Linked DNA regions of Homo sapiens: regions 1, 2, 3, 4 and 5 are each linked to region 6. The links are contacts of gene promoters, found by promoter capture Hi-C in human tissues and cell types (Jung and others, 2019). All regions are on one chromosome and are shown on one strand. Each heading gives the region's core, a stretch centred on a gene start or on the middle of the fragment in contact. The rest is flanking DNA. Distances are from core to core; before and after follow the strand shown.

The links. The method cuts DNA at HindIII sites, captures the fragments that hold promoters and counts their contacts. A contact is called where the count stands out against the background at its distance.
Region 1: a contact is called between a fragment that was not itself captured here and the fragment with the promoter of LIN7B in region 6, in 5 of the 25 tissues and cell types used here (dorsolateral prefrontal cortex, hippocampus, liver and 2 more).
Region 2: the fragment with the promoter of PTH2 here is called in contact with the fragment with the promoter of LIN7B in region 6 in 2 of the 25 tissues and cell types used here (IMR-90 fibroblasts and lymphoblastoid cells).
Region 3: a contact is called between a fragment that was not itself captured here and the fragment with the promoter of LIN7B in region 6, in 2 of the 25 tissues and cell types used here (heart left ventricle and lymphoblastoid cells).
Region 4: a contact is called between a fragment that was not itself captured here and the fragment with the promoter of LIN7B in region 6, in 1 of the 25 tissues and cell types used here (lymphoblastoid cells).
Region 5: the fragment with the promoter of SLC17A7 here is called in contact with the fragment with the promoter of LIN7B in region 6 in 4 of the 25 tissues and cell types used here (dorsolateral prefrontal cortex, lymphoblastoid cells, small bowel and 1 more).

The regions. Positions count from the first base shown.
Region 1 is chr19:49,378,755-49,382,793 of GRCh38, reverse strand. All of the region lies in intron 2 of LOC101928295 (a long non-coding RNA gene), which reads left to right. Among named protein-coding and RNA genes, the nearest start is that of KASH5, 7.5 kb to the left of the region's middle. The HindIII fragment of the contact is 6,743 bases long and covers 1-4,039 here.
Region 2 is chr19:49,421,218-49,425,134 of GRCh38, reverse strand. It overlaps PTH2 (parathyroid hormone 2), which reads left to right and starts at 1,694. Exons shown (of 2, transcript NM_178449.4): 1 at 1,694-1,923; 2 at 2,493-2,716. The coding sequence starts at 1,796. The coding sequence ends at 2,667. It also overlaps a transcript of GFY not described here. RefSeq lists a silencer at 1,375-1,578. The HindIII fragment of the contact is 12,103 bases long and covers 1-3,917 here.
Region 3 is chr19:48,766,025-48,770,176 of GRCh38, reverse strand. No RefSeq gene overlaps it. Among named protein-coding and RNA genes, the nearest start is that of FGF21, 13 kb to the right of the region's middle. The HindIII fragment of the contact is 4,374 bases long and covers 1-4,152 here.
Region 4 is chr19:48,630,807-48,634,535 of GRCh38, reverse strand. DBP (D-box binding PAR bZIP transcription factor) reads left to right here. Exons shown (of 4, transcript NM_001352.5): 3 at 881-1,092; 4 at 3,484-3,729. The coding sequence ends at 3,699. Among named protein-coding and RNA genes, the nearest start is that of DBP, 4.7 kb to the left of the region's middle. The HindIII fragment of the contact is 4,057 bases long and covers 1-3,729 here.
Region 5 is chr19:49,440,049-49,443,641 of GRCh38, reverse strand. SLC17A7 (solute carrier family 17 member 7) reads left to right here and starts at 2,115. Exons shown (of 12, transcript NM_020309.4): 1 at 2,115-2,324. The coding sequence starts at 2,263. The HindIII fragment of the contact is 22,755 bases long and covers 1-3,593 here.
Region 6 is chr19:49,112,058-49,115,885 of GRCh38, reverse strand. It overlaps LIN7B (lin-7 cell polarity scaffold B), which reads right to left and starts at 1,516. Exons shown (of 6, transcript NM_022165.3): 1 at 1,445-1,516; 2 at 919-1,037; 3 at 555-626. The coding sequence starts at 1,481. RefSeq lists a silencer at 1,117-1,696. The HindIII fragment of the contact is 18,984 bases long and covers 1-3,828 here.

The sequences.
Region 1 (4,039 bases), core at 1,445-3,944, 270 kb before region 6:
TGCTTCCTCCTCATTGTCTTTTTCCTCTCTTCTAGGACTCCAGTATGTATGTATTAGACCTTTTAACCATGACCTATATGTCTCATATGTTTTTAATGTATTTTCTACCCTATTTCTGTGTAATTTAATCTAGATATTTTCTATTGATCTGTTTTCCAGTGTGTCTAACCTGATGTGGGACTAATCTACTGAATTTTTATTTCAATTAATTTATTTTTCAGCTCTAGAATTTATATTGGATTCTCCCTCCTCCTTAGATTCCAGTTCTCTGATGAAATTATCCATCTTTTCATCTATTTTTGGGGAACATATTAATTATAGTTATTTGAAAGCCTGTATCTGAGAACTGTAATACCTGGATCACCTTTGGGTACATACTTCTAGTGTATGTTTTTTCTCTTGGTTTTCTGTCATTTGGTCTTGTTTCCTGGCAAGACTGGTAATTTTTAAATTAAAATATAAAAACTGGATGGTATTATCTTCCCTCGGAAAGAATTTAATTTCCTTGGCTGGGCGCGATGGCTCATGCCTGTAATCCCAGCACTTTGGGAGGCCAAGACGGGTGGATTACAAGGTCAGGAGTTCAAGATCAGCCTTGCTAATATGGTGAAACCCCATCTCCCGTGTTCAAATGACTCTTATGCCTCAGTCTCCCGAGTAGCTGGGATTACAGGTGCCTGCCACCATGCCCAACTAATTTTTGTATTTTTAGTAGAGACAAGGTTTCACCATATTGGCCAGACTGGTCTTGAACTCCTGACCTCAGGTGATCCACCTGCCTCAGCCTTCCAAAGTGTTGGGATTACAGGTGTGAACCATCATGCCTAGCTTGTATTCAGCTTTTATAGTTTTTGGTGGGGAGTTAGTCAGCTACTAGCTACTCCATCATAGTGACAAGCAAAAGTCCGGATAATCTTTTTGATCAGTAAATACATATATGTTACTTCTTTAATTGTAACACTTAGCTCACTTCCCATTTTAAATAGAATAACATAAAAACTCCTCACTACGCTCCAAAGACCCTGCATGGTCTGCTCTCCTGTACCCTACGTCTACTTTTGTGATCTTATCCCCTATTTATCTCCATCAATAACTGCTCTGTCCACCTTGGCCTCCTTGTTTTTGATCAAGCCAAGCCATTTCCAACCTCAGGACCTTTGCACTTGCTATTCCCTCAGCCTGAAAGTCTCTTTCTCCAGATTTACCATGGACCGGATTTGCTCCATTACCCCAGTTCAGTCTCTGTGTATATATCAGAGTGCCTCCCTCTGTGTATATATCAGAGAGACTACCCTATCTAAGATGAGCTCGGTCCCCTCAGAGTTTCCTTTCTGCCTCATGTTGCTTTATTCTTCACAGCATTTGCCATTGCTTGATACATATTTATTGTTTCTCTCCCCCACCAAATCCCATGATGCTGGGGCATTGTTTATTCACTGCTTAATCCCCACTGCTTAGAATAGTGTTGGGGGTCTGGGCACATTGGTTCATGCCTGTAATCCCAGGACTTTGGGAAGCTGAGGCAGGCAGATCGCTTGAGCCCAGGAGCTCAAGACCAGCCTGGGTAACATGGAGAAACCACCTTTCTACAAAAAAAATTTATAAAAATTAACCGGGCATGGTGGCATATGCTTGTGGTCCCAGCTACTCAGGAGGCTGAGGTGGGAGGATCACCTGAGCCCAGGAGGCAGAGGTTGCAGTGAGCTGAGATCACACCACTACACTCCAGCCTGGGTGACAAAGTGAGACTCCATCGCCTGCCCCTGCCCCCCCAAAAAAACCCAAAGTCTTATGAATTAACACTTTTTTTCCAGTCAAAAAATCAGGATGATATCAGGGAATACCAGACCTGGTAACTGAGTAGATGTTGGGGGTCTCACCCAGGTGTGTGAAGCCACTGGGAGGAAGATGCTGAAATAGTCTGAGATGTAGTGGTTGTGGGTGGGTCCATGGATTTTCTTGGGGGAAGCGAGGCCCAGGAGATAGTGGTCCATCCCCATCCTCTACTGCTTTCTTCCTCTCTAATTGAGCTAATGCCCAGTTAAGTCTTCAAAGATCTTGAGCACTGAGAGGCTTTCAGGCCCCTCCTCCTCTATAACATAATAATGTAAAGTGGAGACCAGCTGCTAGTAAAGCACTAAATGCAAAAGGTAAAACTATAAAGTTAATAAAAGAAAATGTAGGAAAGTATTAATGACTTCTTTTAGGGATCTCAAAAGGATGAATCATAAGTCAAAAAAATTAATTTGATTACATCAGTATTAAGGGTTTCTATTCATCAAGGATCCCAAGGGCCAAGATCATGAGAGATGAGATGATGGACGAGCGGAAGATATTTGCATTGTCTAAAATTGACCAGGGGCTGGGCGTGGTGGCTCATGCCTGTAATCCCAGCACTTTGGGAGGCCAAGGCAGGCAGATCACCTGAGGTCAGGAGTTTGAGACCGGCCTGGCCAAGAGATTTTGTATTTTTGTACTAAAAATACAAAAATTAGCCAGATGTGATGGAGCATGCCTATAATCCCAACTACTTGGGATGCTGAGGCAGGAGAATAGCTTGAATCTGGGAGGTGGAGGTTGTGGTGAGCTGAGATCGCACCACTACACTCCAGCCTGGGCGACAGAGTGAGACTCCGTCTCAAAAAAAATTAATAAATAAAATAAAAAAATAAAATTGACAAGGGATTAAAAGGTAGGTGATTGAAGGAACTCCTACAAATCAAAAAGAAAAAGATAACAACCCAACAGAAAAAAATGACCAAGAATTTACAGAAAAGCAGGCAATTTACAGAAGGGGAAATCCAAAAAACTAACAAATATGTGATAAGGAGCTCAAAAGATCAGTAACCAGAAACATTCCAATTAAAGCAACAGGAAACTACCCTTTTTAGATTGGCAGACTGCAACAAGCTGAATAATGCTTTATCCTTTAGGGTTTGCTCAGAGAAGCAGATCCATTGTGACTTATACAGTTCATCCTTGAACAATCCCACGTAGCTGGGATTACAGGCATGCACCACCATGCCCAGCTAACTTTTGTATTTTTAGTGGAGATGGGGTTTCACTATGTTGGTCAGGCTGGTCTCAAAGTCCTGACCTCAGGTGGTCCTCCCGCCTCAGCCTCTAAAAGTGCTGGGGTTACAGGCATGAGCCACCGTGCCCGGCGATTTTATTTTTTTTAACCCTCTCCTAACTTCCTCTGATTTCCTTAATAACATTTTCTTTTCTCTAGCTCACTTTATTGTTTGAATATAGTATATAATACATATAACACAGCCAGGCATGGTGGCTCACGCCTGTAAACCCAGAACTTTGGGAGGCCAAGGTGGGCTGATCGCTTGAGCCTAGGAATTGGAGACACCCCTGGGTAACATGGTGAAACCCTCATCTCTACTAAAAATACAAAAATTAGCCAGGTGTGGTTGTGAGAGCCTTATCTGTGGTCCTGCCTACCTGGGAGGCTGAGGAGGGGGGATCGCTTGAACCAGGGGGGTCGAGCCTGGAGTGAGCTATGATTGTGCCACTGCACTCCACCCTGGGTGACAGGGCAAGATCCTGTATCAAAAAAAAAAAAAATCCCCAAAAACATATATCATAAAATATATGTGTTCATCTACTGTTTATGTAAAGCTTCTGGTCAATAGCATGCTATTAGTCATTAAGTTTTTGGGGAGTCAAAATTGATCTTCAGATTTTTTACCTCACAGGGGGTTAGTCCCCTAAGCCCTGAGTTGTTCAGGGTAAACTGTTTAATAGAATTATTAATTAACTAATTGTTTTAACAGCTTTATTGAGTTATCATCCACACACCACATAATTTACCCATTTAAAGTGTATAATTCAGTGGTTTTCAGTGTACTCACAGAGTTCTACAATCATCACAATTAATTTTAGAACATTTTCATCACTCCAAAACAAAGCCCTACATCTCTTAGCCATTATTCCTAACTCAACCTTCCTTTCCGTGAAGCCCCACATAACCATGAATCTGCTTTCTGTCTCTGTAGATTTGCCTTGTTAAATAAATTTTACAGGAAGC
Region 2 (3,917 bases), core at 445-2,944, 310 kb before region 6:
AGTTGTATCCCCCAGCTCCCTCCCCCCAGACTCAGAACTCCAGTCCTCTAGCTCCTTCCTTCCTCAGATTCAGGAATCCAAGTCCCCAGCCTCCTCCTTCCCCAGAACATAGGAATCTGGGTCCCTGTCCCATCCACTCTTAGACTCAGGAGTCCAAGCTTCTGCCACCACCTTCCTAGGAAACTAGGAGCCCAAGTTCCCACATCCCAAGTTTCTACTGCTCTGTAGGACTTCCAAGTTTTGCCCATCTTCTCCTCACTGTGTATAAAGGCCCCTCTTTTTAAATTTTTTTTTTTTTTTGAGACAGAGTCTCACTCTGTTGCCCAGGCTGGAGTGCAGTGGTGCGATCTCAGCTCACTGCAACCTCCCTCTCCCAGGTTCAAGCGATTTTCCTGCCTCAGCCTCCCAAGTAGCTGGGATTACACCACACCTAATTTATGTATTTTTGTAGAGAAGGAGTTTCGCCATGTTGGCCAGTCTGGTCTCGAACTCCTGACCTCAAGTGATCCACCCACCACGGCCTTCCAAAGTGCTGGGATTACAGGCATGAGCCACAGCACCCGGCTGAGGCCCCTCTTAAGAGTCAGTGTGGACTGGGTGTGCTGGCTCACGCCTGTAATCCCAACACTCTGGGAGGCCAAGGAGGGCAGATCACAAGGTCAGGAGTTCAAGACCAGCCTGGCCAACAGTTTGGCGAAACCCTATCTCTACTAAAAATACAAAAATTAGCTGGGCGTGATGGTGGGCACCTGTAATCCCAGCTACTCGGGAGGCTGAGGCAGGACAATGGCTTGAACCTGGGAGGTGGAGGTTGCAGTGAGCCGAGATAGTGCCATTGCACTCCAGCCTGGGCAACAAGAGCAAGACTCCATCTCAAACAGACAAACACACACACACAAAAAGAGTCAGTGTGAGGAGGACTGGGCTTTAATCTTCACAGCACCCCCAAACTCCTCCCAGATAAGGGCTTAGACACATCCTTAGGGCAGCTCAGGAGCCCTGTCTGTTTTCCCCTCTTCTCACTCTCTGAGGTTTTTCTGATGTGGTCTGTCACTTTTCCTGTCCTCACACCCCTGCCACACGTACCCTTTGCCATTTCTTGCCTTTCCCCCCTCCCTACCTCACCCTCGATCTTTCTGGGCCTCTCGCTGCTGTATTTATCTCTGGGCAGCTCCTTCCAGACCAGGACGTCCTTCCATTTCCGTCTGTCTTTCTGAGAGCCTTTTCTTTCCCTCCTCCATCTCCATCTGACTGTTCGTTTCCATCTCCTTCGCTCTCTTTTCTTGTTTTCTTCCTTTTCCTTTCTTTTTCTGTCGTTCCCATTCTTTCTCTCTATTTCTTCCTCGGCCACTCTGTCTTTGTCCTTCTCTTTGTGTCTCTGTTCCTCTGACGGTCCTTCCGCCAGTCTCTATTTTTAGCCCTCTGACACACCCCCTGTGTCCACCTCTCTGTCTGTCTGTCTCTCCCCCTCCCTCGTCTCAGGTCCAGCTTCTGGTCCCAATTAGTTGGTGGCGGCCAAGGCAGCGGCAGGTCCCCCACCCCCGGCTCCTCATTACCGCTGGCGGCTCCTAATGAGCCTGGGGAGGGGGTGACCCCGCGTCCCCGGCCCCCCGGCCTGCGTCACTGCCCGGTGCGGGGGCTGCGGAGGCGATATAAGGGGGCTGCCACCATCGCTGCCCCAGCCCACTGCACGGTAGGGGACTGTGCGGGAAGCTGGGGGTGGATGCATGGTGGGGCCCGGGGTTCTGGGCCGGGATGCAGCCCTACTGAGCCCCTTTCTGGTTCTCCACAGGTGATGGAGACCCGCCAGGTGTCCAGGAGCCCTCGGGTTCGGCTGCTGCTGCTGCTGCTGCTGCTGCTGGTGGTGCCCTGGGGCGTCCGCACTGCCTCGGGAGTCGCCCTGCCCCCGGTCGGGGTCCTCAGGTAGGTGCCAGTCCCAGAACTCCCAGGGAGGGGTGGGAACTTGGAGAAGTGGGAAGAGAACCAAAGAGAAAGGGGACGGAAGATCCAGAAAGCGGAACAGAAGCCCAAAGAGAGGGCGACCGAGACCCAGCGAGAAGACAGAGACTAGGGGTGGGGGAAGGCGGGAGGAGGGTTTGGTGGTAGTGGTGGTGCGGGAAATGGACAGAAAATCAGCAAGGGAAAGAGACACAGAAAGATAGATCCCGAGAAAGGCGTGGAGAGGCTCGAAAGGAGTCGTTGCAGAAACGGATTCATTCTTTGAGCAACGTTTATTGGGTTCTTGGTGTGCGCCTGGCCATGCGCTGAGCGCTGTGGGCGGACAAGTGCATCAGACTCGGTCTCAGTACCTGGGGAGTTTCGAACCTGGTGAGCAGAGAGACAGAGACCCACACAGAGAACGAGAGAGACAGGGGGAGCCGGACCGAGCCACTCCACGGACTGGGCAGTAACGGGGCTTCGAGTTAGACCGCGGGGAGGACAGGCGGCGGCAAGAGCGAGTCTGGACGCGCGGTCACCGCGTCTCTCCACAGCCTCCGCCCCCCAGGACGGGCCTGGGCGGATCCCGCCACCCCCAGGCCGCGGAGGAGCCTGGCGCTGGCGGACGACGCGGCCTTCCGGGAGCGCGCGCGGTTGCTGGCCGCCCTCGAGCGCCGCCACTGGCTGAACTCGTACATGCACAAGCTGCTGGTGTTGGATGCGCCCTGAGCGCGCTGCCCGTCCCCATCTTAATAAAGACCATGCCCTGCGCTCCGGACTGCGCCTAGTTCCTGCGCGACCTGCGTGTGCGTTGGGTTGGGGGCGCGGGGCTTGAAATGGGGGGTAGAAAAGAGACAGGACTCTGTGTCGGCCACTCTGGCATCTCTCTCCTCAGTCCCCACTCTATTTTCTTTCCTCAATTCCGTTTCTCTCTGCCTGTCTTTGTCCAGGAAGCTGGCTTCTTTCCTATTTCTGGATCTCTGCTTCCCTATCGCCCCCACCCCCCCGCCCCCTCCTTTCATTCTGGGCCCCTGTCCCTCCCTACCCCCATCTCTGTCCCCTTCTCTCTGGTTCTCTGTAATCTCCAAGGTCTCTGTCCTCCTCCGTCTCTGTCCCTTTCTCTGGGTCTCTTTCCTCTCTGGGTATGTGTCCCCGTCTCCCTGGGTCCTTGTGGTTATCTCCCCTTTCACCCTTTTGGCTTTCTGGTCTTCTGGGAATCTCTGCCTCCTCTCTCTATTCTCCTTCTGCCTCTGAAACTCTTCCTTCCCTTCTCCATCACTTTCTTTTTTCCTTTTTCCTCTGCCTGACTCCTTCATATCTTCCTTTTCTTTCCTCCGTTAGGTTTCTATCTGTCTCTCCATCAGCTCTCATCTTTGAATTTCGCTGTTCCTCCCTCCCATCACTTCCAGACTTCTCCCCAGGCACAGTGGAAAGATCGCGGGCTCTGGTGTGAGGCAGCCCTAGCATCCAAACCCAGGGTCCTCCAAATCTAGCTGCGTAGTACTGAGAAAGCCTTCTTGACGTCAGTCTCTGTGTCTCCTTTTCTTCATCTGTTACGAGGATCCAATAAGATATACTTCATAAGACTTCAGTACAGCGCCCGTTACGTAGCAAAACGCTTTTATTTGAAAAGGGTTTCCTCTTCTCACAGCAGCGTCCAGCAATTTTTTTCAGGGTTTTCTGACTTCGGGTCTCCTTCTCTAGAGACCTTCGGGGCGCCAGGCTGGGGCAGGAGAAGAGAAAGGAGCAGGCGTCAGGCTCCAAAAAGGACAGGGAAAGGGCGGGAAGATACCTGGGCTGCAGGTGAAGCGAGAAAAGAGCCAATCGAAATCTGTCTCTCTCCCCGGAGGTCCAGCCTGCCCTTCAGCTCCGCCCCTCGTGGTAACCATGGCAACCCGGTGGTCCGCAGAGGGCTAGATCAGCGCGCCTGGGGCGCCGTTCGTGCGGACCGCGCTCTCATTGGTTTAAAGAAGAGAGTG
Region 3 (4,152 bases), core at 916-3,415, 350 kb after region 6:
CGCCTCCCAGGTTCAAGTGATTCTCCTGCCTCAGCCACTTAATTAGCTGGGATTACAGGCATGCGCCACCATACTGGGCTACTTTCGGCTAATTTTTGTATTTTTAGTAGGGACGGGGTTTCACCATGACTTCAGGTGATCTGCCCACCTCGGCCTCCCAAAGTGCTGGGATTACAGGCGTGAACCACCACACCGGCCATATTTATTTATTTTTGAGACAAGGTCTCTCTCTATCACCCAGGTTGGAGTGCAGTGGTGTGATCACAGCTCACTGTAGCCTTGACCTCCCCAGCTCAAGTGATCCTCCCACCTCAGCCTCTTAACTAGCTGGGACTACAGGTGCGCTTCACCACACTTGGCTAATTTTTTTTTTTTTTTTTTTGGTAGAGATGGGCTTTTGCTATGTTGCCCAGTCTGGTTTAGAACTCCTGGGCTCAGGTGATCCTTCTACCTTGGCCTCTCAAAGTGCTGAGATTACAGGTGTAAGCCACCTTGCCCAGCCTTCTCGAAAATATTTAAAGCATTTGTAAGAATCTGGTATATCAGACTTGTGAAAAGTATGACAGAGTGTATTACTGTTTTTCTCCTATTCATGGCATTTAAGGGAAACCACAATATCAGATTTGTGAAAAGTTCACTGATTAAATGTGCAATCACTGTTCAAATATTTAGGCGAAATCTACAATTGTGAAATTTGTGGCTTGTTATTTTTAGCTGTAGAAGTAGTCTGTGAATGTTTAAAGGAAAGATAATTGTTTAAAAATTCATTGATCATTAACAAAAAAACAAATTGTTGTGAATTTTCCTGTCCATGTACAAAAGCTTCTCAGTCATTCAAGGAGCTCACCACCATGTTTTCAACAAATGGGGCTGGAAAAAGTGGCCAGGAGCTGAAGGGAGGAGAATTGGGGAAGTGGGATTTAATTGCGGCAGAGAGTTTCAATTTTATCAGATGAAAAAATTCTGAAGATTGGTTGTGCAACAATGTGAATATACTTAACGCGACTTAACTGTACACTTAGAAATGATTCAGGTGCCGTGGGGTTATGATACAGATTGGTTTTCGGCCAGGTGCAATGGCTTACGCTTGTAATCCAACACTTTGGGTGGCCGAGGCGGGCAGATCACTTGAGGTCAGGAGTTCTGAGAGCCGCCTGGCCAACATGGTGAAACCCTGTCTCTACTAAAAATACAAAAATTAGCCGGGCATGGTAGCGCAAACCTGAAGTCCCAGCTACTTGGGAGGCTGAAGCACGAGAATCTCTTGAACCCGGGAGGCGGAGGTTCCAGTGAGCCCACTGCACTCCAGCCCGGGCAACAGAGCGAGATTCTTTCTCTCAAAAAAAAACAAAAAAAAAAAACAAAAAAAACAAAAACAAAAACAAAAAACCTCCAAAAAATTAGCCAGGTGGAGGCACCTGTAATCTGAGCCACTTAGGAGGCTGAGGCAGGAGAATTGCTTGAACCTGGGAGGCAGAGGTTGCAGAGAGCTGAGATTGTGCCACTGCACTCCAGCCTGGGCGACAGTGACCCTGTCCCCCTCCACCCCTCCGAAAAAAAAAGAAAAGAAAACAAGAACAGTAGTCAAATCTCTAGGGGCTCCAGTGAGTAGGTGAGGATAGGGTGTGGTGGAGAAGCTGAAAGATGCTAAATAGCCTGGCTCCCCAGGGATCTGGGAAGTGCTCACTCAGTAGAACCTCCCTCTTGGAAGGACGAAGCTCCACACTGGTGAAAACTAATAGAGAAACAAAACCCAAACTGATCTTGGCAGGCGCTCAGAGAGTAAAGCAGAGGGAAGGTTCTGATAATGGTGGGGGCAAGAACCAAGGAGATAGAGTTTGCTCCTGAACGTTGGAGAGGTGGCTGTGCTGAGTGGTTATATATTGCATACAATACTGTGGGGAAACAGCAAAGAGTCAGCCTATTTATTTATTTGTTATTTATATATTTAATTTTTTGAGACAGGGGCTCGCTCTGTCACCCAGGCTGGAGTGCAGTGGTGTGATCTTGGCTCACTGCAACCTCCGCCTCCTGGGTTCAAGCGATTCTCCTGCCTCAGCCTCCCGAGTAGCTGGGATTACAGGTGCCCACCACCATGCCCAGATAGTTTTTTTGTTTTGTTTTGAGATGGAGTCTTGCTCTGTTGCCCAGGTTGGAGTGCAGTGGCGTGATCTCAGCTCACTGCAGCCTCTGCCTCCTGGGTTCAAGAGATTCCTGTGCCTCAGCACTTTGGGAGGCCGAGGCAGGCGGATCATGAAGTCAGGAGAACGAGACCATCCTGGCTAACATGATGAAACCCCGTCTCTACTAAAAATACAAAAACAAAATTAGCTGGGCGTGGTGGTGGGTGACTGTAGTCCCAGCTACCCGGGAGGCTGAGGCAGAAGAATGGCGTGAACGCGGGAAGTGGAGCTTGCAGTGAGCCGAGATCGCTCCACTGCACTCCAGCCTGGGCGACAGAGCGAGACTCCATCTCAAAAAAAATAAAAAATAAAAAATAAATAAGAGATTCCTGTGCCTCAACCTCCCAAGTAACTGGGACCGCAGGTGTGCACCACCACGCCCAGCTAATGTTTGTAATTTTAGTAGAGACAGGGTTTCACCTTGTTGGGCAGACTGGTCTGGAACTCCTGACCTCAGGGGATTCGCTCACCTTGGCCTCCCAAAGTGCTGGGATTACAGGCGTGAGCCACTGTGACCGGCAAAACTTTTAAGATTTTTAAGGCTCAGAAAGCTATCCTGGCCCACCCTAATGTCAACTGTGCAACTTCCTCCTAAGGGTACGGCTCACTTAAATGAGAGAAAAAGAAGAGGAGTGTGAGGCCAGGTGCGGTGGCTTACGCCTGTAATCCCAGCACTGTGGGAGGCCAAGGCAGGCGTATCACCTGAGGTCAGGAGTTCGAGACCAGCCTGACCAACATGGAGAAACCCTGTCTCTACTAAAAATACAAAATTAGCCAGATGTGGTGGCACATGCCTGTAATCCCAGCTACTTGGGAGGCTGAGGCAGGAGAATTGCTTGAACCCGAGAGGCAGAGGTTGCAGTGAGCCGAAATCATGCCATTGCACTCCAGCCTGGGCAACAAGAGAGAAACTGTCTTAAAAAAAAAAAAAAAAAGAAGAAGAAGAGGAGTGTGACTAACTCCGTGTAGAGGTGTGCATTGGGGAAATAGCGTCCTGGAAGCTTCATGTCTACCTGGTACCGCTGAATGTGTCCTTACTTGGAAATACGGCCTTTGTAGATGAAATCAAGTTCAGGTGAGGTTATACCGGGTTGGGGTGTGCGCTAAGTCCTATATGATTGGTGTCCTTATAGGAAGAGGGAAATTAAGACAAAGAGCCAAGCGTGGTAGCTCACACCTATAACCCCAGCACTTTGAGAGGCCGAGGTGGGAGGATTGCTTGAGCCCAGGAGTTCAAGACCAGCCTGGCCAACATGACCCTGTCTGTACCAAAGTAAAAGTTAAAAGAACTAGCCAGGGCCAGGTGCAGTGGCTCACGCTTGTAATCCCAGCACTTTGGGAGGCCAAGGCAGGCAGTTCACTTGAGGTCAGGAGTTGGAGAGCAGCCTGGCCAACATGGCGAAACCCTGTCTCTACTAAAAATGCAAAAATTAGCTGGGCATGGTGGCGCAAACCTGAAGTCCCAGCTACTTGGGAGGCTGAAGCATGAGAATCTCTTGAACCCGGGAGGCAGAGGTTCCAGTGAGCCCACTGCACTCCAGCCCGGGCAACAGAGCGAGATTCTCTCTCAAAAAAAAGCAAAACAAAAACCCCCCAAAATTAACGAGGTGGGGGCACCTGTAATCCCAGCTACTTAGGAGGCTGAGGCAGGAGAATTGCTTGAACCTGGGAGGCAGAGGTTGCAGTGAGCCAAAATCATGCCACTGCACTCCAGCCTGGGCGACAGTGACCCTGTCCCCCTCCCCCACCCCCCCAAAAAAAGAAAAGAAAACAAGAACAGTAGTCAAATCTCTAGGGGCTCCAGTGAGTAGGTGAGGATAGGGTGCGGTGGAGAAGCTGAAAGATGCTAAATAGCCTGGCTCCCCAGGGATCTGGGAAGTGCTCACTCAGTAGAACCTCCCTCTTGGAAGGACGAAGCTCCACACGGGTGAAAACTAATAGAGAAACAAAACCCAAACTGATCTTGGCA
Region 4 (3,729 bases), core at 637-3,136, 480 kb after region 6:
GCTGGCCCCGGCTGGCTGGTGCTTAAAGGTACAGGCGCCTCCTTTCGAACCAATCTTCTGGAACCTTAGAGCAGCTTCTCCTCCTCTTTCCAGCGAGTAGCTCTTAGACTCTAACTTGAGAGCTTTTCAGTGCAGTAGATTCTTTTTCTCTGGACAGTCTGGGGTCTAAGCTTAGGTCGTGGATTCGGTAAGTAGGATTCAGGCTAGACTGTGCATCTGAAGTCCTGAGGTTTTAGAAGCAATAGCCCCATCGCTTCTCGGCCTTTTGGCTAAGATCAAGTGTAGAAGCAATAGCCCTGATTCGTGTGTTACCTAGGGCAAGTCAGTTATGACTGGGACTCAGTTTCCTTGTTTGTAAAGGTGGATATGGCTCCATGATCTCTAAGCATCTTTATGGCTTAGGGGAACCTTCATTTTTCTCGTTATTTTGGAGACGGAGTCTCGCTCTGTTGTCCGGGCTGGAGTGCAGTGGTATGATCTCAGCTCACTGCAACCTCCACCTCCAGGGTCCGGGTTCAAGCAATTCTCCAGCCTCAGCCTCCCTAGTAGCTGGGCTTACCGGCACCCGCCACTACACCTGGGCAATTTTCGTACTTTTAGTAAAGATGAGGTTTCTCCATGTTGGCCATGCTGGTCTTGAACTCCTGACTAAAGGTGATTCGCCGCCTCGGCTTCCCAAACTGCTGGGGTTACAGGCGTGAGCCACTGCGCCTGGCCAAGGGAACCTTCATATTTTATATTAGGGAGATTAATCCCTGGCCGAATTTATGCTAGATCCCAGAAGGACTTTCCATGTGGCTATGATACCACAGCAAAAAGTAGCTTCAGGAAACCCCCTCCTTAAAATACACACTCAGCTGACACGTGCTGTTTCCCCAAGGCCTGACCTCTCGGGACACACCCAGCCCTGTGGACCCAGACACCGTGGAGGTGTTGATGACCTTTGAACCCGACCCAGCTGATCTTGCCCTATCAAGCATTCCTGGCCACGAGACCTTTGACCCTCGAAGACATCGCTTCTCAGAAGAGGAACTTAAGCCCCAGCCAATCATGAAGAAGGCAAGAAAAATCCAGGTGCCGGAGGAGCAGAAGGTGAGCAGAGCTGGATGTGGGAGATAGACTTGGCTGGAGACATGCCCCACAGCCAGGGAGGGGCCTTTTCTCACAGTCAAGCCTGGGCTTCTCCTTGGGATTAGTGCTCAGCCTCTCCTGGCCTGCAGCCACAGATTAGTCCTCCTTGGCCACGGGGCACAAGGGGGCAGGGGCCTGAGGTTTATAAAGACAGTGTCAACTGGGCGAGGGGCCTCACTCGTGTAATCCCAGCATTTTAGGGGGCTGAGGCAGGAGGATCTCTTGAGCTCGGGAGTTCAAGACCAGCCTGGGCAACATGGCAAAACCCCATTTCTACAAGCCACTTGGGAGGCTGAGGTGGGAGGACTGCTTGTGCCTGGGAGATTGAGGCTGCAGTGAGCCAAGATTACACCACTGCACTCCAGCCTGGGCAACAGAGGGAGACCTTGTCTTAAAACAAAAGACAGTGTCACTGTGGGGTGCTGACTCAGCCAGCTCTGCTAGGTCTACTTGTAGAGACTTGGAGCTTCTCCTATTACTTGGGTCCAGAGCTCCACCAGGCACACTTGCAAAGGACAGTCTTCCTTTGGCAATGGGATATCAGCCTGTGGCCTGTCTCTCCTTACTCAGCAGGCCTTTGATCTCTGATGTGGGACTTCCTTTGGAGTGATTGCATTTGGCTAGGATGAAGACTGTGCCAGCCCCTTTAGGCCTTGTTTCCTGGGCCTGGACTTCTCACTGGTGGGAGACTTCAGGCTTCTGTTAGCAGCCAGTGCCACTTTCTGATTTGGGGTGATTTGAGCAGTCATTGCATCTTTGCATGATTTTGTTTTTTGCCATTACTGGAGTCTTCCCTAGCAAGAGTTGCTTGGGCTTCTGTTACAAGACTTTGTCATTCCGGGCCAGGCGCGTTGGCTCACGCCTGTAATCCTAGCACTTTAGGAGGCTGAGGTGGGCGGATCACTTGAGGTCAGGAGTTTGAGACCAGCCTGGCCAACATGGTGAAACCTCGCCTCTACTAAAAGTACAAAAATGTTCCGGGTGTGGTGTCTCACACCTGTAATCACAGCACTTTGGGAGGCCGAGGCGGACAGATCACGAGATCAGGAGACCATCCTGGCCAACATGGTGAAACCCCGTCTCTACAAAAAAATACAAAAATTAGCTGGGCATGGTGGCACTCATCTGTAGTCCCAGCTACTTGGGAGGCTAATGTAGGAAAATCGCTTGAACCCAGGAGACGGAGGTTGCAGTGAGCCGAGATCGCGCCACTGCACTCCAGCCTGGGCGACAGAGTGAGAACTCCATCTCAAAAAAAAAAAAAAAGAACAAAAATTAGCCGGACATGGTAGCGGGCACCTATAATCCCAGCTACTTGGGAGGCTGAGGCAGGAGAATCGCTTGAACCTGGGAGGTGGAGGTTGCAATGAGCCGAGATCATGCCACTGCATTCCAGCCTGAACGACAGAGCGAGACTCCATCTCAAAAACAAACAAGACTTTGCCATACCCTTGCGTAACACATAGCTACTTGAAGCACCTAGGACTGGCCTGGAAGTCAGATCTACACCAGTGGTTTCTCCTTCTAGAGGGCCCTGTTGCTAGGGACTGGATTTACCCTCACAAGCAGGAACTGGGCTTTAATTAAATAGTGGAGTAGAGAGCATCTTTCTGAGCCCCGTGGTCCTTGGTTACTAAGGAGGAGTCTTCCTTAGGAACCAACTTCCAGGATGGGAGGACTTTAGGTATAATCCTCTGGGGAGGTCTCAGGATAGTCCCCTTTCCTAAGAGACAGCTCTTCTCTCAGTCAGGTCCTACTGGGGAGGAGGCTATTCTCTGGCCTCAGTTCAAGGCCAGCAGGTCAGAGGCTGGCCACAGTCATTGAAACCACTTAGACCTCACTTTTGTTTGCCAAGGATGGATGAGGTTGCCTTGGCAACCAGGTCAGAAGGCCCCAGCTCTGCGAGGATTTTATGGGACACCAAACCCCATCACCAGGGCACCAAGCTTTCCTTAGCAACCAGGATCTGGAAAGGCAATGTGCAGGGCAGGGCAGTGCTCTTCATTGGGAGAAGCCCTCAGACCATGAAGGCCTTGTTGCTAGGGAACAAGCATCCTTAGCAAGCAAGAGCTAACTGCATGCAGGCCTTTATCATGTGGGGAGGGCTGGGGTCCGCTTTGCAGAGTGGAGACTTGAAGCGAGTTGCTTGAGGGTGGGGGGTCTATCTCATGCCTTTACTGTTGCTAGGGGCCCAATCTCCTTAGCAACCAGGGCCCTAGAAAGGCAGACCCTTGGGTACCTATCCCAGCAGAGACCTGGTGTGGTTTAGGCCCCGCTGCTGGGGCTCCCTTCCTCTCTCGCTGGGACCTGGGTCCCTCTGGACCTCAGTGCTCTCCCCCTCTTCTCCTGCAGGATGAGAAATACTGGAGCCGGCGGTACAAGAACAACGAGGCAGCCAAGCGGTCCCGTGACGCCCGGCGGCTCAAGGAGAACCAGATATCGGTGCGGGCGGCCTTCCTGGAGAAGGAGAACGCCCTGCTGCGGCAGGAAGTTGTGGCCGTGCGCCAGGAGCTGTCCCACTACCGCGCCGTGCTGTCCCGATACCAGGCCCAGCACGGGGCCCTGTGAGGCTGCCCCACATCCCCACCTGGCGGAGCT
Region 5 (3,593 bases), core at 866-3,365, 330 kb before region 6:
ATCTGCTCCACCCTCACACCTGGCCCCAAGCCGCAACCACCGCCTCCGCACCCGGGCCGGGGACTCTGCAGCCACTGGGTGGCGCGTGTGAGCGGCTCCCGCGCTGCTACTTCAGCCCCACGAGTCCCAGTTCCTACCTCCCTCCTGCCTCAGACCCGCAGCGTCCTCCGTTCTGGGGTCCCAGGGGTTTCTCAAAGCTGTGAGACCCAGAGACACAGCCAGTCAAGGCTGGAAGCGAGAGGCTGCGGCGGTCAGTGGCTTCCCGGCCACCCCGTCCTTGGCGCCCGCCCGACGCGCCGTCTGCTCCTCCCACCCCACCGCGGGCCGCATCATGAAAATTTAATACCAAATGCATTTGCGGCCCGACGCGGGGAGGTAGTGGGGAAAGGATCACCCTCCTGGGGCCTGGATCTGGAGGTGGACTCAGCGCCGGGAGATGGGCTGGTCTGAGGACAGGAGCGGGGCGGGACCCTGTCTGCGGGCCCAGGACAGGGAAGGGCCGGGCTCTACCCAACGGGGCGGCGCTGGAATTCCGGCGTGGAGACAGAGTTCGGTGGGCGGGGACAGATTCCGGGGGTGGGAGCAGGACTGGGAGGGCAGGGACAGATCCCAGAGGCGGAGGCGGTGGGCGGGGGACAGATCCCATGGGGCAGGGGCAAGACTGGGAGGGCGGGGACAGATCTCAGGGGCGGAGGCCAGAGCTCGGTGGGCGGGGTCAGATTCCGGGGGCGGAGGCAGGACTGGGAGGTCGAGGACAGATCCCAGTGGCGAGGGTCAGAAGTCGGAGGGCGGGGACAGATCCCATGGGGCCGGGGCAAGACTGGGAGGGTAGGGAGAGATCCAGGGGGCGGGGAGAACTGGGTGGGCGGGGACAGATCCCATGGGGCAGGGGTAGAACACAGAGGGCGGGGACAGATCCCAGGGACGGAGGCCAGAACTCGGTGGGTGGGGACAGATTCCAGGGGGCAGAGATAGATCCTGTGGGGAAGGGGTAGAACTCAGATGGCAGGAACAGATTCCAGGGGGCAAGGACAGAACTGAGAGGGCGGGAACAGAGCCAGGGACAGATCCTAGGAGAAGGGGACACAACTCCAACGGTGGGGAGAGAACTCAGAGGGCGGGGGCAGAACTCAGGTCAGCGACAGATCCTAGGGGAGGAGACAAATTCAGAGGGCGGGTGAGGATGCCAGGGGGTGCGGATCACAATTTAGGGGGCGGGACAGATCTCAGGGGGTGGAGACAGAACTCAAATAGAGGAATGGATCCCCCGGAGCTAGGGAAGAACTCAGAGCGCGGACAGATCCCAGAGGAGCAGAGAAATAACACAATGGGGAGACTATGGGGTCGCAGCTGGCACTGGCGGGGTGTGTGAAATATAACTGTGGGGGGCGGAAGCCAGAGGGAAGAAAATCGGGGTTAGGGAATGAAACTCAGGGAGAGAAGCAACAGGGAGGAGAGAGACGCCGGAGGGAGAATAGAGCTGGAGGAGTATGGGATTCAAAGGGGAAAGATGGAAACTAAGGAGGAGATGGAGCTCAAGGGTGAAGAACCCGGGTGGCGAAAGGGACTAGAGGGGGACGACAGGTGGATCGAAGTAGGCGTTGGACTTGAGGGGAAAGAATTTCCCTTGAATGAGAAAACAAAGAACTCCCTGGATGAGACTATTGGAACTGGGGACGAGGTGGGATGGGGATGGAATTGCGGGGTGGGGGCGGGGAGGAGTGAAGGAACTGGAGGATGAACGCAGAGGGAAAGTCAGAGAAGACAGGATTGTAAGGGACGCAATTAGGGGGAACAGAAGTCGGGGAGAGAAATGATGGGGATGAGAACTCAGGAGAGGAGAGAAAATCTGGGTAGGAGCCAGGGGTGATGGAACAGGGATAGGGGGAGTAGCCTGGGGAAGGAACAGAATTGGGGGGCGTGAACTCGGAGGCGTGAGTTCAGAACCCACAGGCGTGGTCTTGGAAGGCTCAGGAGGGGACAGGACGAGGATGAAAGGGCTGCGAGAGGGGGCGGGTCTGACAGACGAGGGGAGGGGCCTGGTGGGGCCGGGGCGGGGCCTCCCGCGCCCCGCCCCCGGCGCTGAGTCCTGTGACAGCCCCCGGGCCGCCTGCACTTGCAGCCTCCTTCCCCCCGAGCGGAGCTGCGGGGCCGGCCGGGCCGGGGCTGGACCCCGGGAACCCGGACGCGGCCGCCCGGGCCCGCGGGCGGGGGGATCGGCGGGGGGGACCCGCGGGGTGACCGGCGGCAGGAGCCGCCACCATGGAGTTCCGCCAGGAGGAGTTTCGGAAGCTAGCGGGTCGTGCTCTCGGGAAGCTGCACCGGTGAGCCTGGCGGGGGTCCCGGGAGAAGAGTGGGAGGATCTGAGGAGGATGCTAATTCCCACCTGGGCGCAGACTGACAGATGAACGGGCGATACCCCGGCATGGGGGTCCACCCATCTGTCCAGTTTTCTGCCGTGGGCTCCGACGGCGCTGTTCTCCCTGGTCGAGCCTTGTCCATTATCCTGTTCCTTTTTCTGCACCCCACCCCACCCGGCTCCACTCTCTCTGGTGCTGTAAATGCCTCTCTCCCGGGTCTCTGGCTCCTCCCCCACCACTTCTGGGTCTCTGTCCCCGTCTCTTTCTGGATGTCTCTGCCCCTTTTCTCTCTGGGTCTCCGTCTCCCTCTTTTTCCAGATCTCGGCTCCCTTCTCTCTGGGCCCCTCCTTCTCCCTAGATCTCTGCCTCCGCTTCTTTGCGTCTCTGTGCCCCTCTCTCTGGTTCTCTGGCCATTGCTCTCACTGGATCTCTATCAACTCCTGACTCAGAGTCTCTGTCCCCCTCTTTCTGGGTCTCTCCTCTTCCCTGGATCTCTGGTCCCCACTTCTCTGGGTCCCTGTCCCCGTCTCTGTGTTTTAATTCTCCCACCATGGGTCTCTCCGTCTCTCTGTGTCTTTTTCCGTTTCTGTCTGGCATGGAGTTTAATCTGCAGCTAAAGCGGATTGGGGCTCATAGCCCGTTGTCCTTGAGGGGGTGAGGCTGGGTGGAAGAAGTCACAGCACCCTGGGTCCCTGGGAGAGAAAGGAGTTAGAGGCCAAAAATTTCGGCTCCTGGGGTAGGACAGCCTTCCCAAAGGATACAGGCTGGGGCTGACAGGGACTCCCTCCCAACCAGGTTGATGACCCCAGTGAACCGAGTGTCCCTCAGGATAATCTGGACACCTCCCCACAGGCTCTCACCCCCAACCCCAGCTTTGGCTCTAAGTCAGATAAATTACTCAGCTGCGGAAAAGCCTAAAAATATATCTGGCCACAGTGCACGAAGGAGATGGCCTCATCAGCACCATGCCCCTGCCGCCGTGCCCTCAGGCCCTGTCCCCTTGGCCCACAGCCCTGACCCTGTGTTTCGCTGAGCTTCAGTCCACCTCGCTAGGCCATGGGGGTCCTTTGCTAAGTCTAACATCAGTCTTGCTTGCTGCAGATCACCTCTTAGCTCCAAAGTTACCCCACCCTCTAGTAACATGAGAGACAAGAATAAGGCTGGACAGAAGTGGGGGGAGGTGGGCAGGAGGATGGTGCAGTGACGGAGGTTGGTGGTGGAGGGGAAGCTGAG
Region 6 (3,828 bases), core at 267-2,766:
GGATTACAGGCACTCGCCACCACGCTCGGCTTTTTCTTTCTTTTTTTTTTTTTTTGTATTTCTGTGGAGACGGGGTTTCACCATGTTGGCCAGGCTGGTCTCGAACTCCTGACCTCAACTGATCCACCTGCCTCGGCCTCCCAAAGTGTTGGGATTACAGGCGTGAGCCACCGTGCCTGGCCTCAATCTTACTTTTAAACAGAGGAAAGCCAGGCCTGGAGGGAGATCTGAGCCTCCGGACAGCAGCAAGAGGTAGCAGCATCTAACTATTGTGCAGTGAGAGGTCAGAGCGCCATGAGTTTCCTGGTTTGCACTGTACAGATGTTGAAGGTTATCTTCTACCAACCATGCCATACTGTTTCCATTTGCAGTTGCTAAAGATGCCTTAGTATGACATTTAAGTTAAAAATGTGCGATTATTTACTAATAGTAAGGTGGCACATAGATTTAGCAAAAATCATGAGGGAGGAAACAGAAATGACTGGCATGAAGGAGATATTGAGTTCGACTAGGCAGTTAAATAGACACCAGGAGCAATGGGGTGCGGGGCCCACCTTGGCTGTGGCATGGGCTCGGATCTCGGCGCTGCCGGTGATGTCCAGCGTGTCATAAAGCTGCTCATACACCTGGGTGAGGAGGCAGCGGCATCAGGGAGTCGCCAGCTCCTCCAGCCCTAGACGCAGGAGTTCAGGCCTCTAGACCCTCTCCCGCTACCACGCAAGGATCCGCCCCGCCCCCGCAACAGAAGGCCGAGAAAACTACAACTCCCGAAGAACCCCTGAGCTGAAGCGTTGGCACCCCAAGGCGGGCCGCCTCGGGAGCTGCCGGGAGGCGTAGTCTCCGGGCTCGGGACAAGCAGGAGGAGGAGGAGGAGGACGACGGCCACCAGCTCGCGCCCCTGCGCCGCGCGCCCCTCACCTCTCGGATAGCGGAGCAGAAGCGGCTCTGCAGAACTCGCTGGAGGGCCTGCAGCTTCTGCGGCGGCAGCTCCCCGCTGCGCTGGAGCCGCTCGAGGAGCTCAACCGCCCGGGACACGTCTGCGGGGCGGGGGCGGGGCGCAGAAACCCCGAGTGTCAGAGACCCCGAGACGCAGAGAAGCAAGGAGAGCGGCGGAGTGAGGCCGAGCGCACAGTCCGGGGAGGACGGCCGAAGCCTAGTCGGACACCCCGCAGAGTCCAGGGTGGCGCAGGAGAGACTGCCACCAGCGGCCCTGCGGCCCCGGGACCCCTCCACAGGCCGGGTTGTAAGGCGGGCGCCCAGCGTCCCGGCCCGCGCCCAGGGAGCCTCCCACACCTAGCGACCGCCCGGCCCCGGCGCCCGCCCCGCCCACCCCCTCCGGGTCCGCTGGCCCACCCGCACTGGCCTGACCCGGGAAGGGCGGGGACCGGGGGCTGGGTATGTAGGCCGCGGCCCGGGTGGGCAGGGCCCCCTGGCGCACGCTTACCCCGCTCCAGCCCCAGCGGCTCCACCAGCGCAGCCATGTCGGCGCCACAGCTGCCAGCCGCCCGCCTGCCCTGGCGCCGGCGAGGAGGGCGGGGCTGCGCGAGGCCACGCCCCGGGCCACGGGCGCCCCCTGCGGAGGCGCAGCCTGGAGAGCGCCCAGCTCTCCCTCGCCCGACTGCTCCGACCACCTGCCGCGCGCCAGCCGCGCCCTGCCCTCCGCCCCGGCCAGTCGGTCCTGTTGGCGACCCCTCCCACTGCAGGTTCGGTCTGTGTGTACCTTTCAGGATCCGTGTCTGCCTGCCCTCCACACCCGTCTATCCCCTGTCCATCCTTTCCCCACATTCATTCAACAAACTCTTGTGAAACATCTGAGCCCAAGTCATGGACACCGTGGTGAGCAGGACAGCCAAGCCCACGGCCCGAACGAAGCTTCCAGTCTATAGGGGAGGTAGACGACCAACTACGGCTGTGATGAGAGCTGAGAGTGGGGAGGTGATGATCTAGAAAACGAAGGAAATCCTAGAGGAGGGACATTGACATACAGTCCTGGGAGGTAAGATGAACAAGAGGTGGAGCTTGGGTCACCCCCACCACCCAGAAAGAGCCCACGTGGCTGGAAGCAGAGTTAGGATTGGTTGATGATGAGGTGAAAAGGTCGGCAGGATAGTTTATGCCTGGGCTCCTGCGTTGGCATATGCGCCTTGAGGATTTGGGGCTTCATGCAAACTCCTAAGAGAAAAATATGACACTCAAATTTGTATTATTATTATATTATTATTATTATTATTTTTGAGACGGAGCCTCGCTCTGTCGCCCAGGTTGGGCCTCAAATTTGTATTTTAAGATCACTGGGGCCGGGCACGGTGGCTCACACCTGTAATCCTAGCGCTTTGGGAGGCTGCAGCAAGACTACTTGAGCCCAGGAGTTCAAGACCAGCATAGGCAATATAGTGAGACCTCGTATCTATTGAAAAAAAAAAAATCACTGTAGCCACTGTGGAGACTGGTTTGGACAAGAACAAGAGGAGAAGCAGCGGGGCAACTTACGAGGCTACCACAGCCATCCAGGTGGCAGCTAGCACCAGGGCCAAAGCACAGAAGATGGGTGGGCAGATGTGGGAAATGTCTAGACAAGCCTTGGTGCTTGGCTATATAAGGGGATTGGGAGGTGCAGGAGAAGACAGTATTAAGGTGCTTTGGTGCCATTTTTAAGATGGTCTACACTGAAAGAGGGATACTGGATATTTTGTTTTTGAGACACAGTCTTCCCTCTGTTGCCCAGTCTCGAGTGCAGTGGCGTGATCTCGGCTCATTGCAACCTCTGCCTCCCGGGTGCAAGCAATTCTCCTGCCTCAGCCTCCTGAGTAGCTGAGAGTACAGGTGTGCACCTCCACACCTGCCAAATTTTTGTATTTTTCATAGAGATGGGGTTTCACCATGATGGCCAGGCTGGTCTCGAACTCCTGACCTCAAGTGATCCACCTGCCTCAGCCTCCCAAAGTGCTGGGATTACAGGCGCGAGCCACCTTGCCTGGCCGATACTGGATATTTTGAATTTGAGGAGCCTATGCAGAATCCATGGGGAGAAACTATCGATCTAGGTCTAGGGCTCAAAAGAGCAACCTGGTCTGCAGGCATGTTTGAATATTGGGGCATAGGTGGTAAATAAAACCACCGGAGTGGATAAGAATGTCAGGGGCAAGCGAATATTAAGACGGCCTAGAACTGGTCCCCAGACCTCTCTAACACTTAAAAGTCAGGAGGACAGCAGAGAATGGCCTGAAATGTAGGCAGAAACCCAGGTGGGAGAAACCATGAGAAGAGGGGTTTTTAAATTTTATCTTCTTTTTTTGTTTGTTTTAGATGGAGGGGTCTTTGTTGCTCAGGCTGGTCTTGAACTCCTGGGCTCAAACAATCCCCCTGCCTTGGCCTCCCAAAGTGCTGAGTTTACAGGCACGAACCGCTGTGTCTGGCTGCGAGTGTTTTTAAAAAGAAGTGTGGCTGGGCATGGTGGCTCACGCCTGGAATCCCAGCACTTTGGGGGGCCGAGGCGGGTGGATCGCCTGAGGTCAGGAGACCAGCCTGACCACATGGAGAAACCCTGTCTGTACTAAAAATACAAAAGTAGCCAGGCATGGTGGTGCATGCCTGTAATCCCAACTACTGGGGAGGCTGAGGCAGGAGAACTGCTTGAACCCAAGAGGCGGAGGTTGCGGTGAGCGGAGATCATGCCATTGCATTCCAGCTTTGGGAAAAACAGCGAAACTCCGTCTCAAACAAACAAACAAACAAAAAAAGTGAGGCCAGGTGTGGTGGTCACGCCTGTAAGCATTTTGGGAGGCTGAGGCGGGCGGATCACCTGAGGTCAGGAGTTTGAGACCAGCC